Regions from separate parts of the Homo sapiens genome. Here regions 2 and 3 are each linked to region 1. Evidence: promoter capture Hi-C in 16 types of primary human blood cells and fetal thymus (Javierre and others, 2016). All regions are on one chromosome and are shown on one strand. The core of a region is centred on a gene start or on the middle of the fragment in contact, and the rest is flanking DNA. Distances in the headings are between cores, read along the strand shown.

Region 1 (2,773 bases), core at 274-2,773:
GGAGGTGCTGCTAGTAAGAATGAGGTTTCTTTCTGGAGTGATGAAAATGTTCTAATATTGATTGTGACTGTTCCACAATTCTGTGCATATACTAAAACCCACTGAATTGTACACTTTAAACCAATTAGTTGTGTGGTATGAGAATTATATCTGAGTAAAACTGTTACAAAAATATAAGGCAACTAATTTTTTCCTTAAAGATAGCTAAAAACAATGTTATTTTTATTCAGCCTCACTCGGGTCTTAATTGGTTGAGCAGGAAAAGGCTCTAACAGCCCAACCAACTTACAGTATTTAAATCCAGTTCTTACTCTCTGCACACACCTTACAGCCAAAAAGTATTTGCCCTGCACATCCCCCAGGGACCAATTTTTCCAAAGTTCCTTGACCATCTATCCTTAGGCCATGTGACTTTTAAGGAACCATAACCAAAAGCTATTAATTCCATTCAGAGAAGATACAAGCATATTATAATGGAAAACTGGTGTGAATAAGTAATACCTTAATATGTATCTTCGGCTGTAATCTGGACAAAGTAAACACAAAGGGGAAAAAGAAGCAATCTTGTTAGGCCTGGATATTTGGAATTATTTTTGTGTGCTATACAAAGAAACGGAAAAGTTGCAAACCCTTCTCTGTTTTCTGTATGCTAAGGATCTCCTTCTCAGAGACAAAAACCCACTGGCCCGTTTCCTTCTCTAAGCAAATTGAAATCTCTTCCTCAAACATAAGAGCTTATAACTAAGACATTGTTCTAAGCTCTATCTCCTGAAAGCTATTCATAATGCCTCATTCCCAACCAAAACCACTTAATTGCCCCTTGTCCCCTGCCCCTATTACTACTGAGGAGCCCCAAGAACCTTACCTTATTTCCTTCATTGTGGCAAAGTGTTTCAGAAAAGGGTTCCTTGAATTAAAAGTCGGCGTATCCTATTTGACTCCTGCTCCTCCGGTATCACATACCTACAGCCAACCATGCCAAGAGCTTCCCCATTATCTCCGCATCGGAGAGCTACAAGATAAAGCGCAAGAACACGACACGCATCTCAGTAAATCATATATTTTTGGCCCGACTCTGTCTTCAACACACCTAAGGCACCGTGTTTTATCCCTCTTCCATACCCTTTCCTCCCGATATCCTCCAGTTTCAGAGACCGCACCCGGAGACCCATTGGCAGGTTCCTGGATTCGCCTCAATTTTGGTCCTGCCTCTCTGCTTCGCATTTTCAGGCTTGGCCTCACAAGAAGGACGATGGCGCCAGATTGTGCCAGAATGGGTGAAAACAGAAGGAAAATAAACCGGTTGCAGCAAAACCCACTATTCCGCCTCCAACGCGGAGGGAGGAGCGGTCAAATGCACGTCTTCAGGCTCAGGCCCTTCCGATTGGCTGCTGGGACACAACGTGGCCTGTCATTGGCTACGGCACCGGCGCAGGGCCTTCGGAGAGGAAGTGTGGAAGTCCCGCGCCTCTAAAGCCCGCCTTTCGTGACAAATAAAGGTCGTAGCCGCAGAGTCAACGGGCGGAGCTAAAGTGGTCGTGATTCATGCTGTCGCGGGAACCCCGAAGGTGGGGCCCCACGTAACAAGAAGATGACCCGAAGTTGCTCCGCAGTGGGCTGCAGCACCCGTGACACCGTGCTCAGCCGGGAGCGCGGCCTCTCCTTCCACCAGTGCGTATGGGAGCAGCCTCGAAGCCTTCGAACTCCCTGCGGGGCCCGGCGGGCCGTGGCGTGGCGTGGGGCGGGGCCGGGCCGCACTGTGGGTCGCGCCGCGTGTGTGACGCGACGTGACGTGCGCAGCGTCGGGGCGTGGGAGCGGAATTGGGGCACTGTGAGAATTGAGATTCTCTCTCTTCCCGCCCAGTGTTTACCTCTGAATAGCCGGTTCTCGCACCGCCTACCGCTTTAAGGAGAGTTACGCGAAAGGAGTCCTCCATTAATTGGATGGTCTTATTATTTGAAGTGAGGAGGCCGAAAGGGAAGGCAGTTTAGGACAACGGTTGAAGTGTGTGTGTGGCGTCTTCCTGAGCACGAGTACAGATCAGTTTTCTCCTGTACTGCCTGACATTGCAAGTTCTTAAGTGCTGTTAGCCGAGCTGTGCAAGGCCGGTCCGATTCTGGCTGGATTTGATCATGGCAGGGAAGTTTCATTTGGCTCGACAGTGGGGAAGAATTTCAGATCAGTCTTATCTGAACTCATATCCATGGTTCAGACTGGTATAGGTCATTCAGTATTCAGGGTACACTAGCAAGTAGAAAAGTGGGTAAAATAGATCCTCACAGACAAAAGGAGCAGATTTATGGAAAGATCAAAAAGAACTTTATGGTTGGAAAGGGGGGGTAGGAAGAGGGTAGTTAGGAATGGCATGGGAAAATGTAAAGGATAGAAAGTGCAAATATAGAGGAGTGGAAAAGTACCTGAGAAACCATTTTAAAAATGTAAATGCCAGGTTAAGGAGTTTAGAGTATGTATGGTAGGCTATGTATAAAATTCATTGATTTTTTTTTTTTTTTGTTTTCTATTTTTTAAATAGGGCTGATTCCTCCACCTAAATTGTTAGCAGTGTGAACCAACTCATTGTGTATGTGAGACCATAATTGATTTGGGATTTTTCTTGTGATAGAGGTAGTTTTAAACTAGGGAGACATGAATTCCAATTTTAATTGAGTATTTACTGATGTCTGTACTTGGCTCTGGGTCTTGGTTTCTTCTTCTGTAAGAGGAATAAAAACCTGCCTTGTAGAATTTTGTAAAACTAAAACGTAAGACTTT
Region 2 (2,773 bases), core at 205-2,704, 350 kb after region 1:
TGTCCCTTGCCCTACCTGAAGAAGACTGTGGCAATGAGTTACATGCCCTGCCAGTAGTCAGCCAGGGATAATGCTGCTGGTAGAGGTGCGGCAGAAGCAGCAGATGGGCGCAGTCAGCAAGATGCCCTTTGCGCCCATGAACTGCTCTACCCTCATGTGAGGATGGCTCAGGGCAGGACCATCCCCTCCAGAAGTCTTGCCCTAGAGGGCATTCTACAAGGGCTTAGGCAGGAAGCTGAGGCAGAACTCACTGGGGGTGGGCAGCTAAGGGGCAGGTTGGTTTTAGTTGTCTGGTTAAGGGGGCCATACCACCTACTCTCTCCACCCAACCCATGGCCACTCCAGCTCCAGGACCCTGTTTCTGAGCGACAGACCAGCCATTCAATGTCTTCTTTCGGTCCATGATCCCACTGACCCACTCTAGCCTGATGGAGGGAAATGAGCAGCTCTGGTTCTGCTATCTCTCCCACTCTGCCAGGTGCTGGCTGTGGCACAAAGGCTCGCCTTTGTGGGGAGGATAAAACCTGCCCAACCTGCCTCACCTTGGTTATTCGCATTGCAAGGAGTCATTACCATGGGCAATATGGGCTCAGGCCACTCCTTCCAGTTTGCTTTCCATAAATGCAAACTGTCCCTACCGTGAGTCAGGAATGACTCCTGACTCACAGTGGGGCTGCTGTAAACTTGGGGATGGTTGAGGGAACACAGACACAGTCTTCCATGCTCCCCAGGTGGTCCAGCCTGCTGCCCAGAAGCAAACCATGGCAGGCTCACCACCGGTTCTATGCCGCAGGGCTGTTGTAGGACAGGCTGGGCTTTCTCCTGGACTCACCTTACCCTGGGCTGACCTTTGCCCCTGGTATCCAATAATGGCCTCCACTAAATCCTGAAAAAAAAATTAAACACACTTCCTTCTTAAAAATAAATATTCTAAAAGTTCTGAGGAAATTATTATTATTATTATTTTGAGACAGGGTCTCACTGTCACCCAGGCTGGAGTGCAGCAGCACGATCATGGCTCACTGCAGCCTCCACCTCCCAGGCTCAAATGATCCTCCCGCCTCAGCCCTGAAAGTAGCTGGGACTACAGGCATGCACCACCACACCTGGCTAATTTTTGTATTTTTTATAGAGATGGGGGCTCATCATGTTGTCCAGGTTGGTCTTGAATTCCTGGGCTCAAGTGATCCTCCTGCCTCTGCTTCCCAAAGTGCTGGGACTATAGGCATGAGCCACCACACCCAGCCAGAAAGTTATTTTTAACTCAGGTTTATTTACAAAGAAAATGTATGACAGACCTTATGTAGTTCTGGGCCGCGAAGCTGCCTCAATGAACTCTCCATCTATTGAGCTTATGGTAAATGTTCCACCATCTTACTGGAATCCACACTAACGGCCAAAGAATATGTAGACTCGAAAGTATGTATGCTTTTTTTTTTTTTTTTTTGAGACAGAGTTTCACTCTTGTTACCCAGGCTGGAGTGCAATGGCACGATCTCGGCTCACCGCAACCTCCGCCTCCCGGGTTCAAGCGATTCTCGTGCTTCCGCCTCTCAAATAGCTGAGATTATAGGCATGCACCACCACGCCCGGCTAATTTTGTATTTTTAGTAGAGACAGGGTTTCTCCATGTTGGTCAGGCTGGTCTCGAACTCCCGACCTCAGGTGATCCGCCTGCCTCGGCCTCCCAAAGTGCTGGGATTACAGGCGTGAGCCACCGCACCCAGCAAAAGTATGTATGCTTTACAAAATATTACACTTACATTAACACACCTGATTCTATCCTGAAGTAGAGCCAAAAGTCTCTGTAATCTGTTTAATAGATTCAAAATAGTAGGGAGAAAATCTGAGCAAATCATCGTACTGTTTTGTTGTCCTCCCTCCCAAACAATGCAGCAGCTGAGTGGTGGCTGGATTGCCAGATTCTGGGGGTGCTGGTTTGCCCAGTATTTTCATAGTTGAGTGCAGATACTCCCATGCCCTGGCAAACCAGGAGGTTTGCTCACCCTAGCTGGGGGATAAGCAGGCCTTACGTGCCCACCTAGGAAGGTCTGAGTTTATCAGTACAGTAGCATCATGAACAAACAGCCACCAGGTACAGCTTCCTAGAAGCCTCTTTCCTCAGAGAAGAAAAGACAAGATAATCATCCCCCTTAAAATGGCAGATTTGCCACTGGATCCAGTTGCCTTGTGTTTTCCTCATCACTCACACTGTGGTGGGTGTCAGCTGGAGTTCCAGGCCCTCCAGACCAGGGTTGAGGGTTTTTTCACCTTGTACCCCAAGGAGGCAAAATAGAGTAACAGTCAAGAGTGGAGGCTGCGACTCCTGACCACCTACGGTCAAATCGCTGCTCTGCGCCTTCCTTAGGAGTGGTGGCTTTATAATTGTCAACTTGGCTAGACTGAACTACATGTCCCACAGTTCTTCTGCCTGCATGGCTCTGGTTAGGGTGGGCCACCAGAGACATTCTTCAATCAAGACCCTCTGCATCTGTAAATTTATTAAGTCTGAAAACTGGGTAAAAGGCTGTGACTTTTTACTATGATGATGCAAGCTACATTTTTGACTACCCATCCATTTTGTTCCTAGGAACACTATGATCAATTACCACCACAGATCTTTGTGAGCTAAGGCAACTGGTTAGCACTATGTTCCTGCTGCCCTGTATTGTAAATATGTCCACGCTTCTTGTCTTTGGTGGTTAAATGCAGTCACTTTGACTCTGCCTCTCTGGGATTCCATCATCCCCATTGAAATCTGGAAGCCTCTCTC
Region 3 (2,773 bases), core at 128-2,627, 330 kb after region 1:
TGGTGGTGTTGTGGCTGGTTCACAGTGGGCTTTTGTTTGGCCCAGTGGGCACTTGCTGGGCTCTTGTTGCAGTGTTTTGTCCCACTGAAACCAGGTCATTGGTCTCTGATGTCATCGCCTCCTCTTGACCTCCAGTGGCATTGTTGCATTGCCTCGGAGCTCTGCAGGCTGACTAGGCCTTTTGGACTTTCCAGTTTTATCCAAAGCACACAGGAGGCCCCTACAAAAGAACACTCCCCAGGAACCTTTGTCTCAGGAAATCTTTCCAGCGTCTGCCTCTGAACTACTCTCTGTCCTGTCCTCTACTCCAGACTTTTCCCTTGTGATTAAGTTCTTGTCTCCTTGGACTAGGTCCTTTGTATCAGACAGAAAGCTGCCCTTATGTGGGTGGGGGCATAAGTCTCTCTTTGGTTCCACCCTATAACCCTGGGCCAGCCCTTCTTATTCTCAAGCAGAGTCCTGGATCCTGAGACCCTAGTCTGAACCTGTATCCCATCCCCATAATTTGAGTAGGTGAAGCAAAAATGAATCTGTACCCCATCCCCATAATTTGAGTAGGTGAAGCAAAAATGATCAAATCTGGCCAGGCATGGTGGCTCATCCCTGTTGTTCCAGCACTTTGGGGGGCTGAGGCGGGAGAACTGCTTGAGCCCAGGAGTCTGAGACCAGCCTAGGCAACATAGTGAGACCTTGTTTCCACAAACAAACAAACAACCCAATCTGTGAATGCCAAGATTGCTTAAGAATTAACAAATAGCATTTGAAAAAGATGTAAGAATTGTTAGGAACATAAAAGTTATAGGATACTAATTCCTTTAAAATAAAAATGCAAAGTTTCTTCCTAATTAACTTTTTTCTAACACTTAGGTTTGAGATAATTAGAAGAAAAGTTTACATATAGATTAGCGTCACTATTAGCCAAATAGTGCCTTTATAAAAATCACAGAGAGGCCTTTTTCTCTGGTGGTGGGGTGTGGCATAGAGTCCTAAGCAGGACTCACAGCTTGGCAAGGCAAGAGGAGCACAGACTGGATTTTGGTCCCTACTCACCCGTCAGGTGGTTGCTTTTTGGTAATAAACATCCTGCCCAATCATACGAAGTGGCCTGATATAGATGATATTTATTAACTACATGACCTTGGGCAAACATCTCAGTCCTTAGAACTTTAGATGCCTCATATAACAAGTGAGAGGGGCTGACCTCTGAGGTCCTTTGTATCTACAAATACTATGCTCCACGGCATCAGTAATTTTTTTTTTCTTTTTTTTAACTAAATGAGAGTCTTCACAGAAAGTAGAGGAAGTACCAAATGCTGGCCACCGGAAGGAACCAGTCTGAAAAGTAGAAGTGACAGAAACCCATGGGCAAAAGTGGTCAGGTTATTCTAGAGTTCATGATAGGGAGAGTTGGACATCATTAGATATATATCCGAGACTTTGGTAAGACACATCTAAAAATTTTTCCTAAATAATAAGATTCCCTGGACAGAGACTCCCAAAGGGAAGATGACAAGTGTTTGGGAGAAGTGCTGCAAAATGAAATCTCTATCTTCCAAACAGGATGATGTGGAACAGAAAAAAAGGGGGAGAGTTATTTAAAGAGAGACACACTTGGCCAGGCGTATTGGTTCAGGGCACTTTGGGAGGCCGACACAGGTGGATCACTTGAGGCCAGGAGTTCAAGACCAGTCTGGCCAATATGGTGAAACCCCATCTCTACAAAAACTAAAAAAAAAATAGCTGGATGCTAATGCTCTGAGATGACAGATTTTTGGAACTGTGGATGTAAAGCCCATAGACCTTAACATTAGTGTGTCCAGTCCCATGACATTTCATTAGCTTATGGCTTCTGCTCCAGAGACTCCCACCATTTCCCCATTGATAAGGGAGAGGAAGGAGGAAGTAAGAGATTATTTAAAAACAGTTGTGAAACTACCAAGGTCTGTGGTTGAGAGTTGGTTTTCTAACCAACCTTTGTCTAGTCTAGTCTAACCTTTGACTACAGACATCATATAAGGGACACGGTTGCCTCAGATGCAGAAGATATCAGGAAGGGCTGATTTGTTCCACACTATTTGACCACACTGATTGCAACAGGATGTGGACATGTTTTGCTATGAGTGTGTCCTAAAACATTGGAAAGAAACCCCACATCCTGTCACCCTCCCTGAGGGCAAGGACACTTAGAGTGGAGAAATCTGAGGTTTAACCTGTGCTGGGGATGATGACTGATACAACAAAGGATATAGGACCTCACCTAATGAATTTCAAAGATTGCTGATGTAAGATGCACCAAGAACAAATGTTGGTGTCCTGGTAGTAGAGCAGGGGACCCCTTGTGAGACCTGTCTTTGATCTTGGGAACACAAATCTTACAACATATTTATGACTGTGAAGGCAAAAGAAATCTTCAACGATGAGGTCTGGAAATTCTGAATATTCTATGCAAAGTATTAGAATTTCACAAGAGAGGACTTTGCTCAGAAGAGAAAAATGAACAGGCACCAAGTGGTAATTCACAGAAGTGTCATTCCCATGCTCTTAACTCTCAAGTGTGTTTTGAGATCAGGAAACATGGAGTCCTTATTCTCACTGTGTCCCCTGTTTGAAGACTGATTAATTAAGATGTCATTCATGACATGGTGAGCCATCTTGAGATATTTGAATATCCTGCCACCATGGGAACCCAGACCTACCTCTGGACTAATTATTGGGAGGGGATTGTGGGAAAGAATAATGACTGGGAAATAGAAATCTTTAAGATGCTCTTGAG

The links. The method cuts DNA at HindIII sites, captures the fragments that hold promoters and counts their contacts. A CHiCAGO score of 5 or more calls a contact.
Region 2: a fragment that was not itself captured here is called in contact with the fragment with the promoter of THAP9 in region 1 in 1 of 17 cell types (monocytes); the score reaches 5.7 in monocytes.
Region 3: a contact is called between a fragment that was not itself captured here and the fragment with the promoter of THAP9 in region 1, in 1 of 17 cell types (activated CD4 T cells). The highest score is 5.3, in activated CD4 T cells.

The regions. Positions count from the first base shown.
Region 1 is chr4:82,899,212-82,901,984 of GRCh38, forward strand. It overlaps THAP9 (THAP domain containing 9), which reads left to right and starts at 1,524. Exons shown (of 5, transcript NM_024672.6): 1 at 1,524-1,671. The coding sequence starts at 1,592. THAP9-AS1 (THAP9 antisense RNA 1) reads right to left here and starts at 1,705. Exons shown (of 4, transcript NR_034077.1): 1 at 1,123-1,705; 2 at 866-1,012. It also overlaps a transcript of SEC31A not described here. RefSeq lists enhancers at 969-1,488, 1,104-1,223, 1,489-2,008 and a silencer at 1,534-1,883. The HindIII fragment of the contact is 4,998 bases long and covers 1-2,773 here.
Region 2 is chr4:83,248,047-83,250,819 of GRCh38, forward strand. It overlaps the pseudogene LOC391674. Among named protein-coding and RNA genes, the nearest start is that of COQ2, 35 kb to the right of the region's middle. The HindIII fragment of the contact is 9,826 bases long and covers 1-2,773 here.
Region 3 is chr4:83,229,796-83,232,568 of GRCh38, forward strand. No RefSeq gene overlaps it. Among named protein-coding and RNA genes, the nearest start is that of COQ2, 54 kb to the right of the region's middle. The HindIII fragment of the contact is 3,285 bases long and covers 1-2,773 here.